Linked DNA regions of Homo sapiens: region 2 is linked to region 1. The links are contacts of gene promoters, found by promoter capture Hi-C in blood cells and fetal thymus (Javierre and others, 2016). All regions are on one chromosome and are shown on one strand. The core of a region is centred on a gene start or on the middle of the fragment in contact, and the rest is flanking DNA. Distances in the headings are between cores, read along the strand shown. Region 1 holds the start of TCEAL8 (transcription elongation factor A like 8). Region 2 overlaps MORF4L2-AS1 (MORF4L2 antisense RNA 1).

The links. Contacts are between HindIII fragments. The CHiCAGO score rates a contact against its expected background, and 5 or more counts as called.
Region 2: a contact is called between a fragment that was not itself captured here and the fragment with the promoter of TCEAL8 in region 1, in 1 of 17 cell types (non-activated CD4 T cells). The highest score is 6.2, in non-activated CD4 T cells.

The regions. Positions count from the first base shown.
Region 1 is chrX:103,251,535-103,257,706 of GRCh38, reverse strand. It overlaps TCEAL8 (transcription elongation factor A like 8), which reads left to right and starts at 2,552. Exons shown (of 3, transcript NM_153333.3): 1 at 2,552-2,629; 2 at 3,030-3,102; 3 at 3,690-4,712. The coding sequence starts at 3,728. The coding sequence ends at 4,081. RefSeq lists an enhancer at 2,566-2,615. The HindIII fragment of the contact is 6,472 bases long and covers 1-4,450 here.
Region 2 is chrX:103,690,842-103,697,013 of GRCh38, reverse strand. It overlaps MORF4L2-AS1 (MORF4L2 antisense RNA 1), which reads right to left. Exons shown (of 3, transcript NR_038978.1): 3 at 4,454-5,595. Among named protein-coding and RNA genes, the nearest start is that of MORF4L2-AS1, 6.6 kb to the right of the region's middle. The HindIII fragment of the contact is 4,314 bases long and covers 231-4,544 here.

The DNA.
Region 1 (6,172 bases), core at 1,303-3,802:
TCACTTCCAGCTTCAGAGGCTGGGTGATTAGGTCTTGACCTCTAAGAATGAGCAGCACCAGGATCTAGGAGGAAGAGGAGGGCAATCAGGAACAAGATAATGACGAACAAGGACAAAGAGAGAAGTATAAGGCATGCTTGGGCACAGTGACTAAGGGTTGTTTATTATTATTAGTTTTTAATTTTTAATTTGATCTCACTGCTTCTGTAGACAATGAAGTAAGGGTTTATTTTGGATGGGGCAGAGAAGGAGATGATGAGGCTAGAAACATGTCCTGAGGTTCAATTCTGATGGAGGCTGAATGTCAAGATAAGGAGTATAGGATTTACTTGGTGAGTGGTGCGGTTACCATCCAGGGTCACTGAGCAGGAGAATGACTGTTGAAAGCAGGGACAAGGTAATGTGTAAGGTGGATTAAAGGGAGAGAGGGAGGCGCTGGAGGCAGGAAGTCCAGAAGTGAAGCAATGGCCTAAATCTGTTCATGAATGTTTACAGCAGTTCTTTTCATAATTGCTTAGAGCTGGGAATAACTCAAATGTCCTTCAGCAGGTGAATGAATAAGCAAACTGTGGAATAGCTAAATAACAGAATACTACTCAGCAAAAAAGAGAATAAACTATTGATACATGCAACAACTCAAATGGATGTCCAGGGCATTATGCTGAGTGAAAGAAGCCAGTCCCAAAAGAAGCCAGTGCACAAAAATTGAAAAATGAAATCATTTACATAATATTCTGAATAAGACAAAAGTGTAGTAATGGGGAATATATTAGTGGTTGCCAGAGTTTAGGGAAGGCAGTCAAATAGGACTACAAGAGACAGCATGCAGGAGTTTCTGGGGGTGATTGAACTGTATTCTGATTGCAGTGGTGGTTAAACAAATCTATACATTGGTTAAACTTCATAGAAGTGTACACACACACAAAGTCCATTTTGCTGCTGATGATTTTTCTTTTAAAAGATCAGAGTTGTTCCTCACTAAATGGTTACATTTAAAAGAGTGGAAACATTTGGTGATAGGCAATGATTAAATCTTTATAATTTGCTAGTTATATTTATATTAAAAGCTCTCTCTCAAACAATAGAACATTTATCCCTCAAGTGTGGAAGAAATTTGTCATGCTTCAACTATAAATCATTAAGTCCAAAAAATATTTATTTTTTCCAAACCTTCTTTTCTCTTCTCTGGTGGGTGTTCTTGTTGGCTAAGGCATCCTGCTGTGACCACCCTAGACAAAAGACCCCCTCTGTCTTCTTCTGACTCTCCAGCTGGCTCCATTGGCCAGAATGCCACTCCAGGCACCACCATCCTTCCAAGTACCAGTGGATTCTGAGTTGCAGGGATATCAGTTTCCTGTTTAATATTATTTTTTACAGCAATGTTGTTCTCTTTGCTTTCTAATCATAACAATTATGCATGTCAATAGTTCTTTTAATGGGACACAGTGGATGATACCAGACTATCTCAAGAGTGCCATGAATGAAAATGCCATGCAAAGAAGCCTCAAGCCTGATGGTGAGATACAGAGAATTCTCTTTTCTGAGTGTTTCATGAGTGTATGAGTTATTTCCCAACAACGAAATGTTTTCCAAGAAACATACTACTTTGAGTTCCAAAAGAATTTTACTCAGTGGAAAGCAGGCTTTTCTGTGGACTTATCTGATTAACAAGATACTGAATCCTATAGAGGAAATGGGGAGGAAGTCTGTCTGAAGCCTCCAAGTGAAACCTTAGTGGATGCCACCAGTGGTCATCAATGAAAAAGATCAGACATCCAACACTTGATAACTTGAGTTCTGCCAGAAATAGAAAGAGTAGTAGATTACCTATACAAAATTGCTAACAAGAGAAAACTAGGCCTCCTTCCACACATTAATTTGGGAGTCAATTTTTTAAGTGCTGTTTGGTAAGATTTTAAAAAATTCTAACACATCAATATGTTGTGAATATTGTCATTTCATTTCCAGCCATTAGAAAACTTTTCCAAAGTCTTACACATTGATATAACTAATTTGTCCTTCATATTAAGTGTTACATATTGCTTATGAGGCATCCGTTTTCTGATACCATTTTTAAAAGTATGCTGATTGCTGAAAACATAGAACACAACAGAAAACTATTCAAGAGGATTAGTCAAATCCTCCACTTTCAACCTTAGATTCTTTTCCAGCCCCCTCTTCCCGATCTACCACCTTTGCCCATTTCAATGCTGGATAGGATTCCAGGGGAAATGGTGGACTGTAGGGGTCTTGGAGGAGGGGAGGTGGGAGTATTGGGAGCAGAAGAAAGAGATGATTCCTCAAAGAAGGAGAAATGGTCGATTACCCCTAAAAGGCTGATCCTCCTGGTAATCTGAGAAAGGCGAATAAATACTCCAGGGCGAAGATAACAGTTTATTGTCTCCGATTGGCAAATACGAAAAAAGATTGACAGTATCAAGTGGAGGGAACGCAGCGGGCGGGCTGCAGTGTTAATGGGAGGGGTAACTGGGGACTCGAGCTCAGTGATGACGCGACTCTCACGTGACCAGGAGTCGACGTGTGCAGAAGTCCTTATAGTCCAGGGCCTGTTTCCCTGTAGCAGCTCCTTATTGCTGGAGAAGGAGAAAAGTGCCCAAGATCCTTTCAGGTTAGTATAAACGTGGGCGCTGACTTGGAGACCCTGGGGTCGAGGAGGCCGAGAGCAGAAAGCAAGCGGGGCCGGCACTGCTTTCCCCACTTCTGTTCCGCCAAACTCCCATTTTGTGCAGGAAATTTGGGGCTGTTTGGTGGGGGATGGCGGGTGGAGAGAGAGAAGGGTAGCTAATTAAGGGTCCTGAGAGAGAGACATAGAAACTGTTTGGAAGAAACTTGCTTTTCCTACTCCCTGCTTGCAGAAAAACGGTGGGCACGGAGGAGGGCGGGGTTGCCATAAAAGGAGGGCGAGGATGAGGACATGGGAAACTTTACACCAACATGGCCTAGAATCATGAAAGGGACCCGTGATCCAGGTACTAGTCTGCTCACCAAACACTCCCATCTGTCTGCAGGATATTTGGTTTTTTGGGCGCGACACAAATCGAGGTGAGGGAAGAGAGAGGAAAATCCCCTGAATCCCTGCAGGTCAGTTTTTGTAAAGGTGCAATTGCTTCAGGTCTCTTCGGGTGGGGGTGGAAGTGTGAGTGACACCAAAGCACATCCTGGGGTCGCAGCAGCCCCTCCCCATCCGGATTAAGTGCCAGAGGCCGGTGCCGAGCCTGCAGCGGAAATGAGGCGGGGGAGGAGGAGGCTTAAGAGACGCTGAAGGGGGAGGGGAGGCCAGAGACTGGACCAGCCGTCTCAGGTGAGAGGCTGGAGGTTGAGAGGGCCTGGGAAAGTCTGAAGGGCGGGAGTGTTGGAGACCAGAGGCGGGAGAAGGGTTAATTGCTTCCGTACTGCTCCCATTTCAGTATTAGGAGAGGCTTGTAGCAGGGCCTGCTGGGAAGATGGTGGGCAGGAGCAGGAGGAGAAAGATGGAGCTGGAACGAAAGGGGGCGCGAAGGGAGGTGGAGTCAGGGGAGTTCTGAGCCTGAGGATCCAGCTTTCTCTAGTTGGAAAACTTTTGACAATTAGGGTACTGAGTCAAAAAAGGCCAGTCGCTATGGGACCCCATACTCTGACTGCTGGTCTGTTTGCCTGGAATCTAGTAGTTTTGTTTCCTTGTTTTCTAGGATTAATTTATTCAAAAAGGAAATAAAAAATACTCAATATGCAAAAGTCTTGTGAAGAAAATGAGGGAAAACCACAGAACATGCCAAAGGCCGAGGAAGATCGCCCTTTGGAGGATGTACCACAGGAGGCAGAAGGAAATCCTCAACCTTCCGAAGAAGGCGTAAGCCAGGAAGCAGAAGGAAACCCCAGAGGAGGGCCGAATCAGCCTGGCCAGGGATTTAAAGAGGACACACCCGTTAGGCATTTGGACCCTGAAGAAATGATAAGAGGAGTAGATGAGCTTGAAAGGCTTAGGGAAGAGATAAGAAGAGTAAGAAACAAGTTTGTGATGATGCATTGGAAGCAAAGACATTCACGCAGCCGTCCTTATCCTGTGTGCTTTAGGCCTTGAATTCATTTTTGCCTAATATTAAAATCTGGCCCCAGCTTTCTTTCTGTTAGCATTTTCTGATGTATCTTTGACCTCCATTTTACTTTTAATCATCTGATGAAATTTTGTTTTAGGTAATTTCCTTGGTACCAGCATCTCATTGGATTTTGGATTTTGACCCATTTTCCAGGTCTATTTTTCAATTGGAAACTTTCACACATTTGCATGGGAATATGTTCATTCCATGTTGTAAAGTAAAACATAACAGGTTATGGCAAAGCAGCATATTTAATATCAGCTCACATATGTAGGATAAAATTCCAAACTTTGTGTGTGTGCGTGTGTGTATACATACATCCATATAACATATATCACAAACTTAACCAAGCTTATTTCTGTGTGGTGTGAAATTTTATTTGTTTTCTTCTTTTTGTTCTTTTTGCTTATATGTACTTTTTAATGAACACGTGTCTCACACACAAAAAGAATTAAGGATTTTTTTTACAAGTAAGAGTCAAATAATTTGCAACCAGCTTATGAGGGCAATGGGGGCACCTAAACTCTTGATGAAAGAACTTTAAAAAGAAATGTAAACCTCAAATTACCTCTGGATCTCTTAGCCAGAGGAATAAACTGGCAATTATTACAGATACACACGTTTAAGACTCAGTCTTTTCATGGGGAAAATATTTGCTTCACAGGGCTGCAGTGGGGAAGAAATGAGGCAGTAACAGCTGTGCTCAGTGAGATCTTGTTCCCACCTGTGCATACGGAATCCCAACCCACTATAGAAGCACCAATATTTAAGGGAGGGCCTGGCATGATGCAACTTGTACTCAGGATCAAGTCCAGTAGGCAGAGGTGGGGGCTTACCTATCAGTCCTCTGCTATTGAACCCTGTCTCTTCCCCTGGTTCCTGCCATGCCTGCCCAACACTGCTGCCTCTTCTGCTGAGTGCTGTGCTCCCTGCTGGCCCCACTACTGCTGATGCACTGCAGTCCTTGAGGGCCAAAACCCCACCGAGTTCCCTGGAGTCCTCAGTAGGTTGAACTTTCACTGTCTTCTAAAGCTTCTCTCTGCTTTATAGTGACACTTAACACAGGTGGGACTTCTCTAGGGTTGCTTGGGCCACAAGGTCTTTCAGAGCCCTTAGCAAAATAACCCTTCTGTTTTCAATCACAAGACCCTTCTTCTCCATAGGAGTCAGATGTGATGACTCCATTTGGGATTTGGACTGGGGTATAAGTTTGAGTCAAAGACCTGTTGTAATCACAGTTTTTGCTCTAAGTCTAAGGAATGAGGTTTTGTCCTCGTGGGATGATCTCTTCCTGAAGGCTCCTGGGCAGGCCTGACTTACTGGTTCGGAAGACTGCTGGGGAACATATATAAATTGCACAAAGTGATGCAGGGAACAGATCTAAGGAACAGTCCCCTTAATTCCATCTCTTCTGTTGACCTGTGGTTAAAAAAAACTTTCAAAGTCAGTAAGAACCTTGTAAATGTACTTGAAGTAGAATGCTACTATATAAATGTTAGAGATTATATTTCCCCTGTAGAACAAGCAAAGACTGTCTCTTCCTCTTGGTATCCCACATATGAATACTTGTATGTGTTTAACTGGCACATTGTGTTTTAATATTTAATTGATTTTTTGATTGCTACTAAGAGCTAGTAGGTTTGTCCAAATTAGGTTACTCGCTGAATAATCTACAAGTCTTTAGTTCTCTAGAGTTATGACAAGCAATTCCAAGAAGAAACAGGGCAGAGAATTGATTGTACTCTAAATGTTTTATTATAAAAGTATCTCACATAATCACCTGCATCAGAATCTGCTGGGGAGCATCTTGAAAATGCTGATGTCTGGGCCCCACATAAGGCCCACTGACCCACATTCTGGAGGTAGACTGTAAAATTATAGCTTGCAAACTCCTCCAGGTGATAATGATATGGACTGAAGAATGAGAACCACTAGTAATACAGTATGCTTTTCATTATTACAAATATTAACTATAAAATAATTGGCAGGAAATCTTGGTGAGTGCTTACTGACATTCAGGAAATAGAAGGCCTATACAAGCATTTATTGTTTTAAGTATGAATTTTTAAAGGAAA
Region 2 (6,172 bases), core at 1,138-3,637, 440 kb before region 1:
ATATTAGATATTCACAGTCCCCACAGAAACGGGATATAGCAAAAATCTTGGCAACAGTTACAATGATATTACAGGTGTGCAATGGTCATGCCAAGCTCCAAATAGCAGAAATTCAGGATTTCTTTCACCAGGGTTTCTTTGTGAATTTGTTAATCCCTTAGACTTACACTTCTTTTAGTCTTTGCGTAGCAGAAACACAACCTGTTATCATCATTTGATTGGCCTAAGCTTCAGGTTGGTCTATTAAGGAAGGAGACAATATGGTTTCTCGTGAATGTGTTGTTATTCTCCTATGAAATATACTTCACTGATTTTGGAGTTAACCCTTCCTGTCCCATCTCATTAGGATGTCAAATTCCAGGTGTATGAACTGTCTTCACCCAAGGCTACCTAACAGGCAAAAGTAATGAATCATGGAAGTTAATCTCATTTGTCTCCATCTGCTACATATAGTCTCTCTCCCTAACATCCTGGTGGTGGATTCATGTTTAGGGTAAAGGATTCAAGGGGGAAAGAGAGGGTCAAAACTAATGACTATATCTTTAAAGTGTCACTGATACCATGTATGATGTTATTCTTCAGCCAAGAGATATCCAGTTAGGACTTCAGCTACAAAATAGTATCTATTTCTTTCCTTCACCCTTCTTTGGGGGTGGGGGGTGTGAAGGGGTGAACGTGCACTGGCTCTCTGATGTCTTAATTTGCTACCCCCTAATTAGCTGGGAACTGAATCTGAGATGAAAAAACCATACCCTGGCATTAAGGGCTACCTCAGGGTGAGTGGGTGTCCTCTGATTATCTTTGGAAGGTTTCTTGGAGTTGCATTCTTATTTCAGCCCCCCTCAAAGTGCAAGGCAGTGCCTCTATTTTTAATGAGAAATCCAATTCTTTCTCCTGTCATTCCTTGAGTTTTTCCATGCTGCTTCACTCAAGAGGTGCACCTTGGTGGCCTGTTTGCCTTAGTAAGCCCAACCTAATAAGGTTAAGAAATGGCTGATGCCTAACCACCCTTCCGGATATTCACCACCCTGCCATTTAGCCTCCTCACAGAAAGGTAACAGTCTAGTGTAAACGGATATACTTATCCATCCTCTGAGTCTCACTGAGTCCCCAGTTTTACAGATGGTCCTGAAATTGAGGTCTTTTGCAGGCTCCAGTACCCTGAAAAGTCTCCATCACTGAGCCCAGGTAAAGCAAAGCCCTTCACTAGAAATTTGAAGTCACGAAGTGAGTGGTAAGTGTAAGGGGTTCACTCAGTTGTGAGCACCATCGAGGTAAGAAAAAAGTCTCCATCTGTAGCTATGAGCACAGCACTTGGAACAATGGAGGTGGGCAATAAATGCTAGCCCAACGAACAACTACAAATGTGGAAGTAAGTGTATTTGGCCATACTGCCAAATTTCTCTGGTTGGAAGGATCAATGAGTAAGTTTTCTTGTGTTTTTGGAGGAGGCAGTGGTGGGGGAAACAGAAAGGAAGAGAACATGAGTCTACAAGATCATTGGGAGGCCGGGTTTAGGGTAAGCTGAGGTTGGAGTTCTCTGGGTTTTGTTTGATCATTTTTTGCTTTGTTCTGTTTGTTTTGTCAGAAGGCAGGGTTCTCTCATGATTTTTTTTATACCCCTATTTAAAAACTTTTAAAGATTTCCCTTTGCACAGAAGTGTAAGATTAATCCTTCAGTTGGCTACTAATATTGCCTTATCTCCCTTGGATTTATTCACAAATTTTTGTGGAGTGCCTAACACAATATGCCAGGCACTGTGCTAAATACACAGATACATGGTGAGGAAGAAACATAACTCCTGCCCTCAGAGGGCTGACATTCTGGCAGGGGAGACAAACTTAGATAGAGACATTTAAGAAGTGACCAGAAGGAAAAGTAAGATGGAAAGAGGCAAGAAGGACCAGGAAGGCAAAGGAGAAGGAAGATGTTAGAGGTAGGAGAGTTTCCAAGAGGGAAGTGATGTAACAGATTTGCATTTGCAAAAAAACTCCGGCTGCAGAGTGGAGAACAAATTGTAGGGAGACATGAGTAGGTCATCAGGTGAAAATAGTGGTGTCTTAGAAAGGGGAAAGTAATGGGTGCTATGGGAACATAAAGCAAGAGTACTTAATCTGGCCCTGGAGATCAGGGAAGGCCTCCCTGAGGAAGTGACATTTAAGTGAGTTTTGAAGACTGGGTTAGCTGTGGTGAGGAACATGACGGGGTGAAGACTGAAGAGAGTCTGTGTCATACTAACTTTCTGCCTTCGCGAAGGCAGGCCTCATTGTTACTAACAATTTGGTCCTAGCCTGGAATGCCTGGTATCTTTTTTCCCTTGGCCAAATTGTGTCTATCTTTCTATAGCCCTCTCAAACTCCATTTTCTCTGATGATGACCAGATATGACTACTCTCGTTTCTAAACTCTTATTCTATGTCTGTCACTTAGGATTTAAAGTCTTACTATTGGTATTGTGACTTAAGGTTACACGTTTACAAACTTCTTGTAAGTTCCTTGAATTTACGAGCTGTCTTGTATTACTTTGGCATCACCCAGAGTATCTAGCCCAGTGACAGGCACATGAGGTATTCACTGAAAGAATGAATGAATGAATGAGGCACTAGAGTCCCTGCAAGCCTCCTTTGGTAGTTCACTATTATCTGTGAAGCTGACAAGGAAAGGGGTCTGCTTTCCCTATAAGATTTGTACTAAGTACTTGGATGCACAAACCTAAGATCTGAAATTGACAGCTCCTTCCCTCTGGTCACTGATTCTCACCCCCTTGCAATCCTGCCCACCCCTACCCACCACCTTCTATTGTTTCTTCTGTCTTCTGGTTCTCAGCCAGGATGAGAAAATGGTCTAGCTGTCCTCAGAGACTTACGCCAGCCTGGACTGCTCTGCAGTGCCATGAAGGGCCAGGACTTTTGTTTACAGCTGGGAGCATGGTGAGGTGGTGAGCACAGCTGACAGCCCCACTCTGGAGCAAACATCAATCTTCCTCTGTCCTCTCGGCCAAGTTTCACAGACCAGCTCTATTGAAAGCTGGCTGTACCGGCCTGGGTCTCATTGACGTCCTACCCAGAACTCTGGCCTGGAAGCAGCGGGGTGAATCTCGGCTTTGTACCTTTTAGGAACTGCCCTTGCTCCCTTCTCTGTCCCCAGTTTCAAACCATTTTATCTCAACCTCAGGACCTTGAGAGAACATGTGCTCTGATTTCCCCATGCCCTAAACAGTGCCCCACCTCTCCAACCATATCTGCTCACTCCCAGCAGTGTACAAACCCCGTCATTTGCTTAGTTACACAGTGAAAACACAACAAAGAACGAACAAAACCACATAGTTTTCAATGGGTACTCTATGGAACCCGCCTTTCCAAGCAGGTTCAGGTTGGACCTGGAACAGTCAGGTTCCAAGTCCTTGAAAGAGTGTGTGTGTGTGTGTGTGTGTGTGTGTGTGTGTGTGTGTGTGTGTGATCTTTGCCTTCAGGCAGCTTTCCCATTGTTTTATTGTTGTTGTTGTTGATTTTTGTGTATGGTGAGAGACAGGGATCCACCCCACTGTTTTAAAAACTGCAGGTCAGCTGGGCATGATAGCTCACGCCTGTAATCCCAGCACTTTGAGAGGCCAAGGCGGGCAGATCACCTAAGTCAGGAGTTCAAGACCAGCCTGCCCAACATGGCGAAACCCCGTCTCTACTAAAAATACAAAAAGTTAGCTGGGCGTGGTGGCCGGCGCCTGTAATCCCAGCTACTTGGGAGGCTGAGGAAGGAGAATCGCTTGAACCCAGGAGGTGGAGGTTGCAGTGAGCTGAGATCCGCCACTGCACTCTAGCCTGGGCGATAAGAGTGAAACTCTGTCTCAAAAACGAAAAACAAAGAAACAAAACAAAAACCTGCAAGTCAGATGGGGCCCAGAGCCTTCCAAGAATACCCTGAGGTCCTCAGTAAGGACCTCTTTGCCACATATTCTGCTCCCTGGTGTCCTCTGTCATTAGCAGCTTTGTCCTCTCCAGCACTCACCTGGGGTGAGAATGAAGCCCCATTACACTCCAAGTTCCATCTCCTGCCCCAATACTCCCTTTGCCTGTGCTTCTCTTCCTGCTGGCTAACAGTTTTTGCCAATTAGCTGAGGTCTGTTTCCATGGTTTTCAAGCTCCCTCCACTCTCAATCGCCCAAGGGATATGATATACTTCTTTCACCAATAGTGGTTCATTACAGCAAGACTTACTTGTGGGGTTTGGTGGAGGGGGATTGCAGGCAGAAGGATATTTCCCTTCTAGAAGACCTAACCAGAATTTTTGGCAAAGAGGCTTTTTCAATCTAAAACGCCCCCCTCCCCAGATTTTTACAGGGTATGTCTCTACTAAAGGGTGTACATTCTACCTAACCCCTTGGTTAATAAGTACTCTTCTAAAGAGAAACCCATGTGCGTTCTCTTCCTCAGGACTGATGAAGCACTTTAAAACATTTTTTGTCTTTTTAAATGTTTTATTATGGAAAACTTCAAAAATACACAAAAGTAGGAAAAACAGTCTAATGAACTCCCACGTAACAAGCTTCAACAATTTAGATGCAGCACTTTAACTACTACTGGTTTGTCATCTTTAATAACATGACAGCTTATATTTTCAAAAGGCATAGTTTTTATCATTCCCAGTGTAACGGGGACTGTAGGTGGAGGTTAGAAGCATAAGCAAATTTAACTCTGGAAAAATGACTCAAGGCATCCTCTTGAAGCAGTGCTCAGATTGTAGGACTCAGCATACACTGGAGGAAAGCGGTCCTCATTTCTGTGGGTTGGTATGTAGCATGGATGACTTTATATGATCATTCCAAGTGAAGTCTGTGGCTCAGGAAACTACAAATTTTGGTAAATTGTATGCTAAACTATTAACTCAGGAAGGGGACAACAAGGAATTATGTGTGAATCTGGCATCCCAAGGTCATCCAAGGACATTATTGATTAGGTTCAGGATCTCAGTGTTTTGGGTCATTTGAAGAAGTAATCTCATTCTGTCAAATGGGTAGGTCAGTCTCGGGGTGGGGATTTGTCAAAGGAGGAGAGAGGAACTAGAAGAAGACAGATACCCCTAAAAGGATAAAACTTTCCCATGACTATTTTCATCTTTGCCCTGGTCTCACAGGCTAGCAAACTAGATTGATTCAGACTACATTCCTGGACTGGCTTTATAAAATTCCTATGGAATGAGGCAGGTATAAATAGATAGAAATACGTCCTTATTAAAGAAATACCATTTGCTTAGCTGAAATATTAGGTTTTATTTTTAACCTTTACATTAATCAAACATTATTCAAAAAAATCCAATAAGCTAGTCAGAATCAAAATTTTAAAATATCAAATTAACCTTAGAATAGACCAATTTTATCTACTACCCAGAAACCATGGGAAAACACTGGTGTCTCTCTCCACCCTCCAGAACAGACTGACTGCTACCTTCCAGACCTAGGAAGGCTCTCTTAGTCATGAGGTAAGACAGGGCCAGCAGAAAATGTTGGGCAGGTTGCACCCTCCCCAAGGGTGCCCAACTAATAAGGTAGAGTCCAGGCTGAAATTCATTCTTCAGCTGTTCTGGTGAGGTTGCAACAGCCTACAGAAAGAAAAGTTATTTTTCTCATTGTTCCACTGGAATGGGCCCTTCTCTACAATTTCTCTGCCCCCCAGGTGACATGCTTTTCTAATTAGCACAAAAGCAAGGTATGAGCTAATGGTGGCCTTGAAAATTAACACAGGGTTCTCAGAGCATTGCCTGTCCTTTGAAGGCTGGGACCATAAATATTCTCTGTCTGGCCTTGGAGCCAAACAAACATTGACCTAAGCTATTTTTCCATTCCAGTTGAAACAGACTGTGAAGACAGCGGTTCAGCTATACATTCAAAAGAGGAGTAATTCCCATTTTCTGAGGACCCACTAGTAAGTGGAGGTGGCAGGGGAGTATTCACATTTGAGGGAGTAGCATGACATAATGGGAAAAAGCCTGGGCTTGGTCTGCCATTTACTTGCTGAGCAACTTGGGGTATTTATTCTCTGGGCTTCACTGAGGATTTGCTAAGATACCAGATGTAAAAAGCTGGGCACAGTGCTATGTGGCACACAGGAGACATTCAGTTCCTATGCCTTTTTCTGCTACCACCCTGATTCCAAAGTTAATTCACACTGTTCACATG